2 separate regions of the Homo sapiens genome follow, and region 2 is linked to region 1. Evidence: promoter capture Hi-C in 16 types of primary human blood cells and fetal thymus (Javierre and others, 2016). All regions are on one chromosome and are shown on one strand. Each heading gives the region's core, a stretch centred on a gene start or on the middle of the fragment in contact. The rest is flanking DNA. Distances are from core to core; before and after follow the strand shown. Region 1 holds the start of CHMP4C (charged multivesicular body protein 4C). Region 2 overlaps SNX16 (sorting nexin 16).

Region 1 (3,178 bases), core at 175-2,674:
AGATAATAAAGAAAAACAATACTTACGACAACTTATACATGAAATTAGAGCAAAATGTGTGTTATAGACCATACATGCTTTACATGGCCAGCCAGGAAATGATAGGAGGTGGCTGGCTGCAGTTACTGTGAAATGATAAGTTCACATATTTGTGTGTTAGAAGATGCTTACTGTAAGCCTCCTATGGAAGTGTTCAATTTCTTTGGCAAAATTTTATGCTATCTATGCCAATGTTGGATAAATAGATTAACTTGCTGCTTTGTGTTTGTATGCTTGCAGACAAAATTGTGTTATTGATCTTGGGTATCAAGGTGAATTTGTCAGAGTAATGGGTGTTTTTTTTTTTTTTTTTTCTCTTAAACAGTGGCTGGCTAACAATCAAAAATAGGTTTTGGTAATGTTGGGTAACGTTGCTCAAATACGGCTATATTATGCAGAGCACATGGCAATCGTTGAAGAGTAAAACACAGATAATTCCACTTCTTTGTAGTGTGCTTGACACAGGTTTGCAGCAGTATTGCATCATCTATAAGCATTACATATGGCTGTCCTTTCATCTTACTAAATTATTTGCCAGCAGATCTAATAGATGGGCTGAGATAGTGAGCATGAACAAAAGAATGTTTCTCTTCTCCAGGATATTCTCTACTTTTTGTTACTTAAGTATCTATGTAATAGCATTTGACATACAGCCAAACACCAGGGCAGCCCCATTTAAGGTTTTTGATACACTGAGGATCATTCAGAAAACTTCGGATTCCTAGTTATAGAGTTGAATCCAACCACCAACACACTCCAGAAGTCCTGACATTAGGAAAAGAGATGGCCACCATCTTTCACCCACTTCAAGTCCTGTAAGGATGATCTAGAATCTACACTGTGCCAACTAGCATCCAGGCACACATCAACCTGCCCGGACTACCAAATGCAGAAACAAGCCCAGTAGCAGCAGCTGCTCCGAGCTTGCCCACACACCTGCATCCTAGTGGCAGACAAATATCCTGGAAGCCTTTGTGTCCACACACTCATACCTACATGACATACACTTAGAGGAAAAGATCTGAATATTCTTATTCACAAGAACAGAGGCCTGAATACAGGAACACTATGCTCACGTACACACAAAAGACACGCATGGAATAAAGCATTTTGCATATCCAGTCTTGCGCACTTACACTTTCAGGTCCTGCACAAGACCCCTGGACATCGGTTTGCTTTTCTTTGAGCCATTCACAAACTAGTTCCTCGTTCCTGGGACCGTCCCTAGTGTGGATAAAAGCCAACTTCCCACAGTCTTTGTCGGTCTTTTCAACTTTTCTCTGCTCTCGCTCAACTCCCAGAGGGCCGGGTGGCGCCGGCCAGCCGACGTCCCAGCGGTGGCCTCCCCGCCCAGCCGCTGTGCAGCGGGGCGGGGCCGAACTGGCAGCCAGGAAATGCCCTGGAGTGTGTGTCACCTGTCCAGGACGACTTGTTGATTCCCAGGAGGGCCGCCTTTCCGGTCTGGGTCCCCGAGAGGACTGCCTTGCTCACCTGTCCCCTCGGCGCGGCCCCGGGGAGCTCCCGAGAGGCCCCCGGGATCGCTGGCCCTCCGAACTCCACAGCAATGAGCAAGTTGGGCAAGTTCTTTAAAGGGGGCGGCTCTTCTAAGAGCCGAGCCGCTCCCAGTCCCCAGGAGGCCCTGGTCCGACTTCGGGAGACTGAGGAGATGCTGGGCAAGAAACAAGAGTACCTGGAAAATCGAATCCAGAGAGAAATCGCCCTGGCCAAGAAGCACGGCACGCAGAATAAGCGAGGTAGGCTGGGGTCTGGCCCACAGGCGGGAGCCCATCTGCCTCTAGCCTTTCCCTTGGGGACAATCGGCCCACACCACTGAGGTCCCCAGGTGGCCAGGTTTGCTCCTGCAGTCTTTTCTAGGAACTGGTACTGACTCTTAGGGCACTGACTAGGGTGAGTTGAGCTAGACACTGGCACTGATGGCAAAATGTAAGGGGCCGCCAAAAATCTCAGTAATCAAGATGAACAATACTTTAATGCAATACCTAAAGGACTCAGAACCAATGCCAAAAAAGAAATGATGAAGAAAATATCAAAATTTTAAATAAAGACAAGATTGGTATTGATTTTTTTCATTTGCCTCTAGCTCTTATGTTGTTATGTGCAGCACATCTTTATTTAAAATTATTTTTTATAATGTGATGATTTGTTCATCGTGGATTTTTTAATATTAATTTTGAATTTTAAAAATATTGCATTAAAATATTATTTGTCTTGATTACTGAGTGTTTTCGCACCCCTGTAAATTTTGCTCCTGGTCCAGCTTTTTCTAGGCCAGCCTTGCTGACTCCAACACTAACCATGAAGTTTTCTGCTGTATGTTTGTATATTAAATTACACATTTTAACTTGCACGTAAATCTTCAGAAAAGGATATTCTAGTACGTTGTGGTCTACCTTGCTCCTCAGCTGTGGAAAGCTTTAGCTGGATGTTCGGCAGTTGAAGTCTTAAAAAAAAAAAAGGTAGAGGAATTAATTATTAAATTTCCTATCACTGACTTTTGGCACACACAAGAGACTTTGAGTCAGTAATGATTCTTGGTGTTCCTGTTGCACCTTGAACACCTGTTCTTTGCCAGAGTTAACTGATTTCTTCAGTATACTGCTCCTTCTATTGGAATACCTCTAAACAGCACCTGTGGCACAGATAAAAACTCAGTGAGAAGTTGAAGTGATTTGCTCTTGTAACACCGGGTTCATGGCAGACCCAGAAAAGGAAGTGGCAATATCGGACTCTGCTTACCACCAAACCCAAACATTTGCACCCTCAAGTTGGGCTTCTTTAGTCATAATGAAGCCTTGGGAAGATTTGGCTCACTCTACAGGATGCTGCCATTGTTTAATGCAGGAAAGGAATGAAGTCTCAAGGAGATGAACTTGAGAACTCTGCCTCTTTCTGTAAAAGTGTGCCAGCTACATTTATGCCCACTTACCACCAACAATAAGAAGGCTGTTTTATTGCATATAACTTTTGTGCATATTATAGCCTGTTTTAGAGGTAAGTACTGATTTCTACTTTTACTTTGTGTCTGAAAATATTCTGGGAAGTTATGCAATGGCAATTTCTAAAGAAAGACCATGTCATTATGGCTTGCTAAAAATGTTGTTGGTCATTTTGCTCCTTG
Region 2 (3,282 bases), core at 441-2,940, 85 kb after region 1:
TTTAAAATAGTTATTAAAAAATGATATTGTTATGCTTATACTTTGCTATTATCAGAGAAACAGGTTAAGGAGGTAGATAACCAAACTTCCTTATAATAAAAATGCCTCCCTGCCTTTCTAAAAAGCAAGTTTGGACTGTTGAACTGAGAGACAACTCTATGTACACATCAAAATATAAATGTGGATCCTTATTTTAGATTTGCAAAATAAAATCTTTACAAATTTCCTTTTACAAAGGATTTTCTTTTTTTTTTTTTTTAAGACGAGTCTCGCTCTTGTTAACAGCCCAGGCTGAAGTCTGGAGTGCAGTGATGTGATCTCGGCTCACTGCAACCTCCGCCTCCTGGGTTCCAGCGATTCTCCTGCGTCAGCCTCCCGAGTAGCAGGGATTAGAGGCTTCCACCACCACACCCAGCTAATTTTTGTATTTTTAGTAGAGATAGTGTTTCTCCATGTTGGCCAGGCTGGTCTCCCACTCCTGACCTCAGGTGATCCGCCCGCCTCAGCCTTCCAAAGTGCTGGGATTACAGGCACGAACCACCGCGACCGCACCCAGCCAGGATTTCTTGATACACTACAAAAAGGGGATGTCAACTTATGCTAAAAGGGAATGGGGCTTTTGGTTTCAGATTAGGCCAGACAGGTTGATGATGTCAGGAGGTGTCCATGAAGAGTTAAATGGAATTTTACATATCTTATTGTATTTAATATGCTCACATATTCTATTGTATTTAATTTTCACGACAATCAGGTAAGATTAGGATAAGTATTGGATCTTCATTCACAAATGATACCGAATTTCAGAGAGGTGAAATTACTTGCCTATTGTCAGAAAGTGCAGGTGGTAGAGCTGTACTTTCAATCTGTTCCCTGAGTGTGAATATGTGTCCTTTTCTACCTTTAAATTCTTCTGTCTTATGCTTTGGTTCATTTGGATTCTCCTTGCTGGACACTTCTCTCTGAAAACATCTGATTTATCTGCAACCCTCTCTAGTCATGGCCTCTAGTAGAAAACTGCAGTTGGCTGATAGCACAGAATAGAACAAGGTCTTCTGATGTAGATATTATGCTTCTATCCACCCATTATTTATACTGGGGCACCTGCTATTACATACAAATGACTCCTAGGAAATCAATTGATCTGGGATTGAGAGGTCAAGTTTGTATGAAACCCTGAGGAAATAGCACTTAAGACTGAAAGCAAACTGCTAAGAAACATATGGAAGGGTCCTGTTTAATACTTTCAGTATATGACAAATGTGAGACATTATTTTCTTACAGTTTTATATTCAAATTTCCTCATACTTTAATGTTGCTTTTATGTTTACAAATTACTCTACTGGACTGCTACTGCTAGGAAAGAAAAAGGGGTAAAGGAGTACACATATATCCCTTTTTATATCTTTGGTTTACAGTAGAAATTTAGCCAAGATGGACAGTGAATGTTGACAGTGTATCCAGCTGGAGGAATCATTTTGGAGTGGTTATTCTGTTTCATTCACCTTCCCTAAAAATCTTTATGATCTATGGCTCACTAGAGTTCTACTTACATGAAATCCAATGGATTCTTTAAGTTTTTATCCATATAGTTCCAAGGTTATACTCTATGCTTTACTTTCTTTAATCAGTAGCAGAATAAAATTTGAAACTGGCTTTACAATGTTAATTTACATAAAACCTTTTCAGTGGCTCATTACATTTCCTCTGCTTCAACAAGACTCAGTCAGTAAAGAAAGCAGTCAATACCCTCAAACTCTATTTTCTTTCTAAGGAGAGGACACACAAGAATCTCTGGAAGATGGTAGTAATTGAGAAAACAATTCCTTTCTTAGAAATTCTGATACATTTTTCCCCCTAGGAAAGGAAACCCTCACCCTTGCTTGAGAATCACTGACTACATAACTTTATTTAGATCCAGTGAATATTTATTGACTGTCTATGTGTGCCATTATTCCTTTTATTATCTGGAATACATTTTTACTGTGTTTGGGAAACCTATTTTAAAATTGGGGTCAGGTGTTGACTTAATTTACTAAAGGCAGATAAGGAAATCACCTATGGTATCCCTCAGCATTGTTTTAATTATCAGAGCAAATCTGTACTATAAATTCACCTGTTTCTTTGATTCTCTTGAATTTTGTTTAAAGAGTTTTACCGTATTTTCAAACTATGCTCTTAAGAACAACATATTTGACTTTATTGCAAATTTTATAACTATCTGTAATTTAATTTCTACCAAAATAACATTTTGTAGCAAAAACCATCCAACCAACCTTAGTAATGTGTTGATTCTCATGAGATAGCATTATATGAACTACTGTGTAAATAACTGAATTCTTCTTTCATTTTATATAAATACTAAGATTAACTTCTCTGAATATCTTAAATTTTCTTTTTTAAATTAAAAAAATAAAAACAACTTAGAGACATTAATGATCACATTTCCTGTGAAAAGATAGTTCAGGTTGCAAATGTACAAAAGTTATCTTTAAGTATTCTTGTTCAAGTAGAGAATTATTGAATTTTTTTTAACTAGAAGAAACCTAACTTGTCATCTAATCAAACATATCCCATTTAATAATTCCCTCTTTGATACCACTGATAGTTATCTACTCTCTTCAAATAGTTAAGATGAAGAGAAATCTACTTTTTCAAAAGGCAGAACATTTTTATATTGGACAGCTTGAAATGACAAGTAACTTTTTAAAATCTGAGCTGATAGTACCTTCCTCTAACTTCTTGTTGTTATTCCTATTTTATATGTTAGCCTTGCTATTCAAAATGAGGTTATTAGACCAGCCAGTATCAGCATCACCTAGAAACCTGTTAGAAATGCAAAATCTTCCCCTCACGCTTGCTGAATCAGGGTCAGCATTAACAAATCCCAGGTGATTCACAGACACATTACAGTTGGAGAAGCACTACTCTTAAATATACATGATCAATCCTTCCTTCCAAAAACAATCTTTCAAATCTTTCAAGTATGTAAAGATGGCTATCATATCTCCCAAGTAGTTTTTTAAAAGAATATTCTCATTTATTTCAATTGTTCTGTCATATTAATGTTTGGATACTATTTTCTTTTCTTTAAAGCCATGAACTGCTATTAATCCAGATCCATCCTGAACTTTAAAAAAATAGATGTAGAATTAAAAATACTGAATTTTCGTACTGAATCCCTTACAGATAAATGATAGTGTGAAGACAAATACATAACTTTAACTTTTGAATTTCGAAAAATTAAAAAGAAAAAAATGGCATGTAAGATACATGTGAAGTACT

What was found. Contacts are between HindIII fragments. The CHiCAGO score rates a contact against its expected background, and 5 or more counts as called.
Region 2: a fragment that was not itself captured here is called in contact with the fragment with the promoter of CHMP4C in region 1 in 1 of 17 cell types (neutrophils); the score reaches 5.3 in neutrophils.

Annotation. Positions count from the first base shown.
Region 1 is chr8:81,731,024-81,734,201 of GRCh38, forward strand. It overlaps CHMP4C (charged multivesicular body protein 4C), which reads left to right and starts at 1,425. Exons shown (of 5, transcript NM_152284.4): 1 at 1,425-1,793. The coding sequence starts at 1,604. The HindIII fragment of the contact is 11,241 bases long and covers 1-2,470 here.
Region 2 is chr8:81,815,938-81,819,219 of GRCh38, forward strand. The region is part of intron 4 of SNX16 (sorting nexin 16); the gene reads right to left. Among named protein-coding and RNA genes, the nearest start is that of SNX16, 25 kb to the right of the region's middle. The HindIII fragment of the contact is 4,872 bases long and covers 1-3,282 here.